Linked DNA regions of Homo sapiens: region 2 is linked to region 1. The links are contacts of gene promoters, found by promoter capture Hi-C in blood cells and fetal thymus (Javierre and others, 2016). All regions are on one chromosome and are shown on one strand. The core of a region is centred on a gene start or on the middle of the fragment in contact, and the rest is flanking DNA. Distances in the headings are between cores, read along the strand shown. Region 1 holds the start of GON4L (gon-4 like). Region 2 overlaps FDPS (farnesyl diphosphate synthase).

Region 1 (5,969 bases), core at 1-2,500:
AGAGGGAGACTCTGTCAAAAAAAAAAAAAAAAAAAAAAAAAAAAGGCATCTTATTACCCAGGAAAACTTTACTGTCATAAATAGATCCAATAATAGAATAAGCCGCCTTGTGTTAGATCACTGGCAATGTTCAAGCGAAGCCTGAATGTCCACTTATCAGAGTACTAGATGAAAGCCTGAACTAGAGAACTGAAAAATAAAAGTTATTTGTAACTCTAAGCGTCTAAGGTTAGATTTCTCTTTCTTCTTTTCTTTCTTTCTCTCTCTCTCTCTTTCTTTCCAGAGACAAGGTCTCGCTCTGTTGCCCAGACCGGAGTGCAGTGGCAAGATCCTAGTTCACTGCAGCCTCAGACTCCTGGGCTCCAGTGACCCTCTGGCCTCGGCCTCCCGAGTAGCTAGGACTACAAGGCACTTGCCACCACCCTCAACGACTTTTTTTCTTTTTTTTTTTTTGTAGAGACGGGGTCTCGATTTGTTACCCAGGCTGGTCTCAAACTCCTGGCCTCAAGCGATCCTCCCGCCCCAGCCTCCCAAAGTGCTAGGATTAGAGGCGTGAGCCACCGCGCCCGACCTACAGTTAGTTTTAAACCTCCCTTCTGTTTCTCCAAGACATTAGGGGAGATTCTCCATCCCCTCAATCAACTGATGTAATTAAAACTCAGTAACTAAAGCTCAATAAAACATGAAGATTTCGTTGATTCCTGTGAGAGATGGTGGTGACCTTATAAGAAATAGAATGGGAGTAGCCAGGGCAGCTCTTTTATTTCACAGATAATTACTGAGATCAAAAAAAGGGGAAAAAAAGAAAAAGAAAGAAAGAAAAAGAAGGAAAGAAAGACAGCTACTTCAGCTCCAGGCACCTCAAACACAGCAGTAGCTCGACAGAATCCACTTTTTTGGGAACCCAAGTCGGACCAGCAGGGTGAATGAATGCCAATGTGGAGGCAGCCCCGGCACGGCCCTCTCCTAGGAAAACATTTTCAAAAGGGGTCCTAACCGCGCTTCCACCTCGGTGCCCAGGGCTGGCTCCAGTCCCCATTCCCAACTAGACACTGGACTTCACGCCCTTAACTTCCGCCACGCACCCAGCGCCCACCCTCAGACCCGACCTTCTCAACCTGGACATCGTTCGTCCAGGTGTCCCAGCTCCCACCTGCCTCTTCCCACCCCACCACACACAAACCTGTACCCTCACCAGCCGGCCTGATTCCACGGAAACGGCTTTGGCACCACCGGAAGTCAGCCAACAACAGCGAATTGCGTGCGCGTCCCCGAGCCTCGGAGCGCCGCGCCGCAGTGCATCAAGGAGCATGCGCCTAACACTATGCGCCATCCCATTTTAGGGCAGAGTGAAGCCACAACGTTAGTGCGTCAGTTATTGGCAAAAAAATTTAAAGGCACTACTTAGCTTTCTCTGCCCATGGAGTTATCCTACTCAAAACTGAGGTTAAGATTCAGTGGTTTAGATTAACAGCTAATTTGGGGGCCAGGCGCGGTGGCTCACGCCTGTAATCCCGGCACCTTGGGAGACGGAGGCGGGCGGATTACCTGAGGTCGGGAGTTCGAGATCACCCTGGCTAACATGGTGAAACCCCGTCTCTACTAAATATACAAAATTAGCTGGGCGTGGTGGCGCACGCCTGTAATCCCAGCTACTCCGGAGGCTGAGGCAGGAGAATCGCTTGAACCCGGGAGACGGAGGTGGCAGTGAGCCGGCATCGTGCCACTGCACTCCAACCTGAGCGACAGTGAGACTCTGTATCAAAAAAAAAAAAAGATTAACAACTAATTTTTCTCACTACGAGTCACCTGGAACACAGGACCAAGGGACTGAAGAAGTCATAAAATGCCAGAAAAAGAAGTCTCTAAATTACAAATAGTGCAGGCTCCTGATTAAAACTAAGGCACTCTTGGACTCAGGCTATAGTAATTATTCATATATGTACAATATTCTGCATTTTACAAAATGCTCTCACATTTTCTTAGGTGACTTGGTCTCCACAATAGACTGTAAGATTATTATATCATATTCCAGTTTGCACAGGACAAAGTTCTGGCTCATCTGAGTAGGTGATTTCACAACGGTACACAGACAGCTATCAAGGAGAATCAGGTATTAAGTCTCCTAACTCTAGCTAATAATGCATTGACCCAGTGTCCAGGAGGCTGCCTGGGGTGTAACAGATGTTCAATAATTCAATACGTGCTTTTTGAATGAGCGAATGAATGAATGACTTCTAAAATGATGTTATTTCCACTTTTCTAGAAAAACAATGTCTGGAATCCACGGAGATTAAAAAAATAATAAAAAACAGAATGTCAAAAGGTGGAAAAATACTTTCAACCCCCTCATTTTACAGGTAAACCACCAACACAAATTTATACATTTGAACTAATCCTATCTGTAAACAGAATCCAACGGATGAAATTATCCACAGCCAAAATGAAGGTTGAAATTTATGCAAACATGGCAGTAGTCTGACTAACCTGAATCACACCAACTCTCCCAAATACCAAGGAAGACTCCAGAAGCTCGGAGTTTCATGTGTGTTGTTCTTTGACCTACAGAATACACAGATCTTTCGGTTTGGCCTCTCTCATACGAAACCCTAAGCACTTGAGGTTCATGAAAAAAATTCAACACTGATTAACTTTGGCACTTTTCATTAGTTGTTTTTTTTTTTTTTTTTAAACAGCTTTGCATACCACAATATCCATCTGTTTTACGTGTACAACCAAATTTTTTTTTTTTTTTTTTTTTCAGACGGAGTCTTGTTCTGTTGCCCAGGCTGGAGTGCAGTGGCGCGATCTCGGTTCACTGCAACCTCCACCTCCTGGGCTCAAGCGATCCTCGTGTCTCAGCCTCCCAAGTAGCGTGTGCCACCACGCCCGGCTAATCTTTGTATTTTTAGTAGAGATGGGGGTTTCACCATGCTGGCCAGGCTGGTCTCGAACTCCTGACCTCAAGTGATCTGCCCGCCTTGGCCTCCCAAAGGTTTGGGATTACAGGCATGAGCCACCGTGCCCGGCTGTTTTTTTAAAATTAGTAAATGTTCAGAGTTGTGCAACCATCCCCAGGTTTGGTCTTTCATCAGAGTTTCTGAGGTTTAAGACAGTTTCCATCCACTGTGAAATATAAGCCAAAAAAAAAAGTTCTGTAATAACCTTTAGCGGTCTCAGAAATGCATAATGATGGCAGTCGATACTGAAATCCAGGCAGTACAGAATTTTATTTTCCCAAAATTCTGGAACTCAGGACCGAGAACATTTTGCTGCTGTATTAAAGCCCAGAAAACTGAAATCAGAGGATTTCATATAATAATCTACCTATGCTTCTTACCCTTCAGTACTTTCTCGTTTTGGAACCACAGCGCGTCAGTGGGCGCGGCCTCATTCTCGGGAAAACTCGGCGGTGGGAGGAGTCCCCTCCGGGAGAGCTTCCTGAAGGGGGCGAGGGCTGACTTCCGTAATCTTTCGGAAGAGGCGGAGTCTTCTTCCGAGGACCATTCGGAAGAGGCGGAGTCTTCTTCCGAGGACCATTCGGAAGAAGGCGGAGCCTACCTCTCATCAGGACCAGTCTGACTGCACCTGCATCCTTAGCTCAGCGCATCCCCGGAGCATCTTAAGAGCTGAGCGCAGCTGACAACTAGGGGCCGGACCGTCGCAGGAGGCGTCCGCTGGATACCTTCCCCCTTCCCTGACCTAGAGCTCTACAGCTGCTGCCTCGGTACTGACCGAGGGTTCCCAGAGCTGTCTCACCATTGCAAAAACGTTATAGCAACAGCCTCTGATTACGACATGGCTGAGATCACCAATATCCGACCTAGCTTTGGTAAGTAGACTCGGGAAAACTAAGCTTGAGGTGGTCAGAATGGTTGCAAGGCCAAGGGGGCCCAGCGGCAGGGCAGAGAATGCAGCCCAGACCAGAGCCTTCAAAATGCCAGCCCCACTAAAATCGGGCCTGTGGTGGTGGGTAGTGGGTAGTGGGCAGTTGACAGTGCATGAACTTGAGCTATGGGCTGCAGGGACTGGCAGGGCCTGAGCCACACCGAGGGTGGGGAAGTCCAGGATGCTAAAACCTTGTATGGTGCACTGTCAGCACTGCTGGAGGTGAGAAACAGCAAGCGTGCGGAGGATGTGAACCCCTCCTTCTGGGGGAGGAGAGGTGGGGTAGGCCAAGCCCTCCCCCTTGGGGCACACAGGGCGGTGCCCCTTCCTCCCCCTCCCATTCCTAAGGGCTGCGGGGGAGGGAAGTGACAAGGGGGATGGGGCATCAAGATGGCAGCTTGGAGACTGTGGGCCGTGTGGCTGGCAGCCAGGGGAGGCGGCGGCCTCTGGGGAAAGAGGGGTGCGGGGTGGGGAGCAAAAAGGAAGCCACTCCTTAAGCCGGTCAGCTGGATGCTGGGGCTAGGAGGAAACGTGAGCCCTGCAAGCTCCATTCCGCATCGTAATGGTGGGGTCCCTCCGATGCTACCAAATGGCGCTTGGCGCTGCTGGGCTGGGGGATGACGTGATGTCTATTTCTGGGCCTCCTGGCAGCGCCGACGCTCTCCTTCCGGGGCCTTTGTTCCCTGTTTCCCTGGGCCGCCTTTTCAAAAAGGGGGACTGACCAGCGTTGATGCTGGCGGGGGCGCGATCCAGGCCGGAGGGGGAGGGGCGAAAGAGGCCCAGCCCGGGGGAGGCCGCTTTGTGTACCGCAGAAAGCATTACGTCATTTCAGAGCGGCTGGTCCCCGACCCAGCCCTGTGGGCTCCAAGATTAGTTTTACACTCTCTGGAGCAGAAAGTGGAGTGGAAAATAGGGAAGAAGGTGGCAAAGACAAGCTTGAGAAGGAAGTTTTTTCCTCTTTGGGGACTCCTGCAGTATATGCTAAAGGAGCAAACTTCCTGTGTTATGCTTTCCTGATCAAATAAATAAAATATAATTGCCCTGCTTCTCCTTGATTCAGTTTAGATGGGGGAAGCCAGTGAGAGTTGCTGCCAAAGAACCTTCTTATTCCTTCAGGGATTCTATCCCTCAGACAATCCAGTAGGTTTGAGCATCGGGACTCCAGTTTTTAGGGTGGAGACACAATCCAGCTAGGAAATGGCTTTTCTCATTCCTGAATAAGAGGTACAGTGAAATGAGCAGAATCCAGTGTGCTCTATCCCCTCAGAATAAGGAAGAAGAAATCAAATCAGATGTGTTCAGATAACTGATCTTCACACTCATTAACTACTTGTTCTCACTTATTCCACAAGGCTAAATCTTGATGGTATTTTTTCTTCCACTTCACCTTCCGCATCTTTATTCTTTGAGTTCTAAGTTTCCAAAACAAAAGTCCCTTTCATGATCACATGAGCAATCCATGATTTCTTCCTGTTCTTTTTCTTCTTATTCCCTTCCAACAGATTCCTTTCTCTAACTGCAGTTCCAGAATCCTTGAAAAAAGGAGATGGTGTGGAACATAATATAGTGATTTCTCTTAGAGGGACTATTATTGGGAAAGGGAAAATAAATTATATCAGCCTGTTACATACTACATTTTATTTAATCCTAACAAATACCCTCGAGTGTATGTATTATTATATATACTTGCCAGACAAGGAAACCAAAGCTCAGAAATAAAATAACTTGGCTAAAGCCAAACAAATGACTAAAGGTAGCACTAGTTTGTTTTTGTTTTTGTTTTTGAGACGGAGTTTCGATCTTGTTGCCCAGGTTGGAGTGCAATGGCGTGATCTTGGCCCACCACAACCTCTGCCTCCTGGGTTCAAGCGATTATCCTGCCTCAGCCTCCCAAGTAGCTGGGATTACAGACAAGTGCCACCACACCCAGCTAATTTTGTATTTTTAGTAGAGATGGGGTTTCTCCATGTTGGTCAGGCTGGTCTTGAACTCCCGACCTCAGGTGATCTGCCTACCTTGGCCTCCCAAAGTCCTGGGATTACAGGTGTGAGCCACTGCACCTGGCCAATGCTAGGATTTAA
Region 2 (5,969 bases), core at 1-2,500, 540 kb before region 1:
AGCAAAACTATATACAGATATAAAGTAGCAGCTCTGTTGCTGATAGAAGGAACAGTAATGAGGAGCCCTGCAGGTCTTATTCCACTCTTTCTAGCTGCAAGCTTTCTTCCTGGTGGCAGATGACATCATGGATTCATCCCTTACCCGCCGGGGACAGATCTGCTGGTATCAGAAGGTAATGTGGGCAGGAAAATAGCAGTGGGTATGGGGACAGGCCACAGGGAGGTGGTTATATATGGCCTGGTTGAGGTGTTGGGGTGATGGCTCTTAGTATGAACCGAGACTAGAGATTGATTGCTTGTTTTTCTGTCTGTCATGACAGCCGGGCGTGGGTTTGGATGCCATCAATGATGCTAACCTCCTGGAAGCATGTATCTACCGCCTGCTGAAGCTCTATTGCCGGGAGCAGCCCTATTACCTGAACCTGATCGAGCTCTTCCTGCAGGTGTATTGCAGACAGGGCCCGATGCCCAGAGGGTGCCCATGGTAGCCTTGGCCTCTATAGGACATGCTCATCTAGCTGGTTTCAGGGTACAGGATTGCAGCGTGCCTGGAAGGGAAAGAAAGCGAGGAAGGGTGTTGGGAAGTGGGGTTGTGGTAGTGGCAAGAAAGGGCTTCTCTGTCCTGTGTAATTGGAAGAAAGGGTGATAAAGGACTGTGTGTATGAATATGGGCCTTAAGTTTTGGGGCTTTCTCCCCTTCTGTTGCCTTTCTGATTCTGCCCAGTTGTCAGCTGGTATGGGATGTTGGGCTTGGGATACCAGGGTTTCGCATATCTGGAGAAAGCCTGGCTCATGGACCGTCTTTGTCTTGCTTAGAGTTCCTATCAGACTGAGATTGGGCAGACCCTGGACCTCCTCACAGCCCCCCAGGGCAATGTGGATCTTGTCAGATTCACTGAAAAGAGGTGAGGGGAGGTGAGGGACAGCGCGAACCATGTCTGGACAGCGAGGGAGGGCTCAGGATGTGCATTGCCCTCCTGAGGAGTTTCTCTTCTCCCCTTACTCAGGTACAAATCTATTGTCAAGTACAAGACAGCTTTCTACTCCTTCTACCTTCCTATAGCTGCAGCCATGTACATGGTGAGTGAGCCTCCTCACCCCTCTCTGCTCTGCTGATGGGGGCTTTTGGACAGCAAGGCATAGAGCAGAAAACGTGAACACTGCTACCCCTGGTGAAAAACTGTGTGACCTTGAGCAAGTCGGTCTCGCTCAGTCTCTTTCCTCAGCTGGGGATAAAATTCCTACTTCACAGGACTGTAAAGATTAAGCAAGGCAAGGGATATGAAAGTGCTTAGCACATAATAGGGGAACAATATATCCTGTATCTGAGTATGGATAGGAGTGTGGAGATCATCCAGGTTGAGAGGGAGAAGAGTGGATTAAAGACAGTCAGTGGGATTAAGTGTCTACCCTGACCTTGCTTCTCTACATTTCCTTTTCATCTTGAAAGAAGTTGGAGGTGGCAAAAATATTAGGAAGGTGGATCAGAATGACTTGGGGACTGACATTTGTGAGGGAAGAGACAGGCTGTGCACCTCTAGAATGGATTCATCTCTTTTATGACTCCCAGGAAGGCCTAGCCAAAAATAAGTGGGATTGAGGTTGGACCATCAGTCAGGACTGTCTAGGTCAGGGAAGCCAAGATGTCTGAAGAGAGAGGAAAGATTTGGGGCTGCAGTAGGGCAAGACCCCATGGGAGGAAGCAGCCAGGAAGATGCCGGCACCCCTGGGGTTTGGCTTATTAACCCCCCTTTCCCTGCAGGCAGGAATTGATGGCGAGAAGGAGCACGCCAATGCCAAGAAGATCCTGCTGGAGATGGGGGAGTTCTTTCAGATTCAGGTAAGAAGGCAGGAGGCAGTAGCAGAGAACAGGCACCAGCTTCACTCCTCCTCTGCCCAGGAACCTCATCCTTCCTCTTTTGCTGCCCTCCCCCTCCCTGCCCAGGATGATTACCTTGACCTCTTTGGGGACCCCAGTGTGACCGGCAAAATTGGCACTGACATCCAGGACAACAAATGCAGCTGGCTGGTGGTTCAGTGTCTGCAACGGGCCACTCCAGAACAGTACCAGATCCTGAAGGTGCCTGAGAGAGGGTGGTGGGTCCCTGAGTTGGTGGAAAGGGATAGAGCAGTGGTTCTCAACTAGAGGCAGTTTTCCTCCCGAGGGGACATTTGGCAATGTCAGCAGACATTTTTTGCCATTGTCATTACAACTCTGTGTGTGTGCATGTGGTACAGACATCTAGTTGGCAGGAGCCAAAGATGTTGCCAAACATGTAGTACACAGAACAGCTCCCCCAGACAGGATTATCTGGTCCCAAATTTCAATAGTGCCAAGGTGGAGAAACCCTGGAGTAGAGGATGCCTGGTATGAGGCAATATTTGGGATAGGGAAGGGAAGCTTGGGATTTTAGCTACGTAGAGACACTTGAAAATTGGAGGGAGGAAAGGAGTGGGTGGCTTTGGAGATGTTCTGGAATATGTGAATGAGGGGAGTGGAGGGGTCCTGGAGGCTCTGGGGAAGGCCAAGCCCGTTTTCCTGTCTTTCAACCTCTTCCAGGAAAATTACGGGCAGAAGGAGGCTGAGAAAGTGGCCCGGGTGAAGGCGCTATATGAGGAGCTGGATCTGCCAGCAGTGTTCTTGCAATATGAGGAAGACAGTTACAGCCACATTATGGCTCTCATTGAACAGTACGCAGCACCCCTGCCCCCAGCCGTCTTTCTGGGGCTTGCGCGCAAAATCTACAAGCGGAGAAAGTGACCTAGAGATTGCAAGGGCGGGGAGAGGAGGCTCTCAATAAATAATCGTGTAACCTTCTTGTGGTTCTGTTCTTGCTCGGCCCAGCCAGAGTCTGGCTCTTTCCAGAATGTGCAGGGTGGGGTGCTGGGAGGACTCGCTGCACGGAACCAGGACCCAGGGGCCAAAAGCTTAGGATATATCAAACCCTCTAGGTGGGTGACAAAAGACGCTAAACGCTGGGGGCGGGTCTGAGCTACGCCACGCCCATGCGCGAAGGGGTGCAGCTGCGCAGCGCAGGGTAGGTTGTGCTAGTGCCCCTCCCCTCCCGCTCTGTGCCCCGCCGGGCGGGGACCGTGGGAGCCGCGGACAAGCCCAAGGCCGGAGCGGTTCCAGGAGGACCCTGGTGAGGAGGGCTCGGCCCATGGGTGTAGACCGATGGACCTGGGCACGAGGGGCGGGGCAGGACAAGGGAGCAGGAGAAATGAATAGAGAAAGGGTGCGGTGGTGGCTGAACGATGGAGACGAATGCGGAGAGAATGGACATACCGCTGTTCCGAGGGGCGAGGGCGCAGGCTGGAGCCCGGCCGAGGCAGCCAGCAGATGCGGAGTTGACAAGCTGACGGCTGCTCCATCCTTTTCCTCTCCAGCCCCCACCCCTTTCCTGCATTCACCAGACAAACTCTGCGTATTGCCCCACCCCCATCCTCCACCTCCTTTCAGGGCATCTGGGTGGGTCTCCCTGGGTCCCTTCCTCTGGGAGTAAGGGGTAGGCTGGAGGGCAGGGCCAGATTGCGGCAGCAGGGACCTGGAGGTCCATTCTGGGCCCGGACCTCTTCCAGGCCCCCGCCCCCCTTCGGAGATCCAGAGCGCAGCCGCGTTCTCTGACCCTCCCGGCTCCATTCCCGGGGGGTTACATTCGACTCCATCTGCAAACACTGCAGTGGAAACTAATGGTCAGTCGATTGCGATTTGCATCTCATTGAAATATCTTCCAAAGCAGCCAGAGCCTTCAGGCCTGCTGCTGCCGTCAAGTCACCTCGGTGTCCTTCCCCGCAGCTCTTGTCCTCACTGGCCGGGCTTCACCACCTCTGTCTTCTAGGTCTGCACCTGTGGTTGCCAGGTAGGTGGATGTGAGAGACCCTACCCTTCTGGTTCTCTAGAAGCCATCCCATCGCCGCTAGCATCATGCTGTCCCCTCAGAGAGCTTTACTCTGCAACCTCAACCACATCCACCTCCAGCACGTCTCCCTGGGCCTGCACTTGTCCCGCCGTCCTGAGCTACAGGAGGGGCCTTTGAGCACACCCCCTCCTCCAGGAGACACTGGGGGCAAGGAGAGCAGGGGCCCCTGCAGTGGCACCCTGGTGGACGCCAATTCCAACAGCCCAGCTGTGCCCTGCCGGTGCTGCCAGGAGCACGGTCCGGGCCTAGAAAACCGGCAGGACCCGTCACAGGAGGAAGAGGGGGCTGCCTCTCCCTCAGACCCAGGCTGCTCCTCCTCACTCAGCTCCTGCTCAGATCTTAGCCCCGATGAGTCCCCTGTCTCAGTCTACTTGCGGGACCTCCCTGGTGATGAGGATGCCCACCCTCAGCCCAGTATCATCCCCCTGGAGCAGGGCTCCCCACTGGCTTCAGCAGGCCCTGGCACCTGCTCACCGGACAGCTTCTGCTGCTCTCCTGATTCCTGCTCCGGAGCTTCTTCTTCACCCGATCCTGGCCTGGACTCGAACTGCAACGCCCTGACCACCTGCCAGGACGTCCCTTCCCCAGGCTTGGAGGAAGAGGACGAGAGGGCGGAGCAGGATCTCCCTACCTCTGAGCTCTTAGAGGCGGATGATGGGAAAATCGACGCTGGGAAAACGGAGCCCAGTTGGAAGATTAACCCAATTTGGAAAATTGACACAGAGAAAACTAAAGCTGAATGGAAAACCACTGAAAACAATAACACTGGTTGGAAAAACAACGGGAATGTTAACTCTAGCTGGAAAAGTGAACCTGAAAAATTCGACTCTGGTTGGAAAACCAACACAAGAATAACTGATTCTGGCTCGAAAACAGATGCAGGGAAAATTGATGGAGGATGGAGAAGTGACGTCAGCGAGGAGCCGGTGCCCCACCGGACAATCACGTCCTTCCACGAGCTGGCCCAGAAGCGCAAGCGGGGCCCAGGGCTGCCCCTTGTCCCGCAGGCGAAGAAAGATCGCAGTGACTGGCTCATAGTCTTCTCGCCCGACACCGAGCTCCCCCCCTCGGGGTCGCCGGGCGGCTCCTCGGCACCTCCTCGGGAAGTCACCACCTTCAAGGAACTCCGGTCCCGAAGCCGGGCCCCAGCCCCGCCAGTCCCGCCTCGAGACCCCCCAGTTGGCTGGGCTTTGGTCCCGCCCCGGCCCCCACCCCCGCCTGTCCCTCCCCGAAGGAAGAAGAACCGACCTGGACTGCAGCCCATAGCGGAGGGGCAGTCCGAGGAGGGCCGGGCTGTCAGCCCAGCGGCTGGCGAGGAGGCCCCAGCCGCGAAGGAGCCGGGCGCGCAGGCCGGCCTGGAGGGTAAGAGGTCGCAAGAAGCGGGAGGAGGGCTGGGCTTCGGCCGCTCACGCCTCCTAGGCTTCCAACCCGGCCCCCTGTCTTCCCTCCATTCTGTGTCACCCATCCTCCCCGCCCCTTCTACCAGGGAGCGCTCCGGGAAAGGGAAACTGGGTGGGTCATTGGGTTATGGGACTAACTGTTTGCTCCCTCTTCTTCCCGCCCCTTCTTGCCTGGCTGCCCATCCCGCTGCCCTCCTTCCCTCTGCGCCTGGCCCCGCCAATCCCGCCTGCAGCCGGTCCCCTCCTGCTCCCTCGGCCCCTGGTTTTCCGGTTCTCGGCCGACGGGCGCCCCCTGTTGGAGGGTGGGGGCGCAGGCGCAGCTGGGTCTCTGCTCCTGGCTCCTCTGGCCGGGTGGCCCGGCGCCGGGCTGCGGCTGCTGGGGGCGCCGAGCCCCCCAGAGGAGCAGCTGCTGCCCGTCCGCCTGTCCCCGGTGGGAGCCTATTCGCCTCCGACTCGGGGAGCCTTGCCCTGCCTGGCCAGCCCCGAGCTGGCACTGCTGCTGTCCCCGCTCTTTCCCAGAAGTAGCACCTTCCCCGCCGCGGCTCCCCCACCCCGCCAGGTACCCGCCCCCCCGCTGCCACCGCAACCTCGTCCGCCGAAGGCCCCTCGCTGGACCAGGAGCCCATCGCCTCCGCCCAGGCTACGTA

Evidence for each region. Contacts are between HindIII fragments. The CHiCAGO score rates a contact against its expected background, and 5 or more counts as called.
Region 2: a fragment that was not itself captured here is called in contact with the fragment with the promoter of GON4L in region 1 in 1 of 17 cell types (naive B cells); the score reaches 5.4 in naive B cells.

Annotation. Positions count from the first base shown.
Region 1 is chr1:155,855,964-155,861,932 of GRCh38, forward strand. It overlaps GON4L (gon-4 like), which reads right to left and starts at 1,251. Exons shown (of 32, transcript NM_001282860.2): 1 at 1,184-1,251. SYT11 (synaptotagmin 11) reads left to right here and starts at 3,604. Exons shown (of 4, transcript NM_152280.5): 1 at 3,604-3,832. The coding sequence starts at 3,799. RefSeq lists enhancers at 1,131-1,330, 1,617-2,204, 3,445-3,554, 3,745-3,844. The HindIII fragment of the contact is 10,340 bases long and covers 1-3,854 here.
Region 2 is chr1:155,317,847-155,323,815 of GRCh38, forward strand. It overlaps FDPS (farnesyl diphosphate synthase), which reads left to right. Exons shown (of 11, transcript NM_002004.4): 5 at 95-175; 6 at 323-445; 7 at 819-907; 8 at 1,010-1,082; 9 at 1,765-1,842; 10 at 1,948-2,082; 11 at 2,563-2,819. The coding sequence ends at 2,763. RUSC1-AS1 (RUSC1 antisense RNA 1) reads right to left here. Exons shown (of 6, transcript NR_145424.1): 2 at 4,397-4,591; 3 at 3,779-3,849; 4 at 1,957-2,086; 5 at 419-550; 6 at 1-159. RUSC1 (RUN and SH3 domain containing 1) reads left to right here and starts at 3,048. Exons shown (of 10, transcript NM_001105203.2): 1 at 3,048-3,145; 2 at 3,842-5,284. The coding sequence starts at 3,928. RefSeq lists silencers at 2,990-3,139, 5,120-5,359, 5,650-5,879, 5,920-5,969 and an enhancer at 3,755-4,738. The HindIII fragment of the contact is 2,302 bases long and covers 100-2,401 here.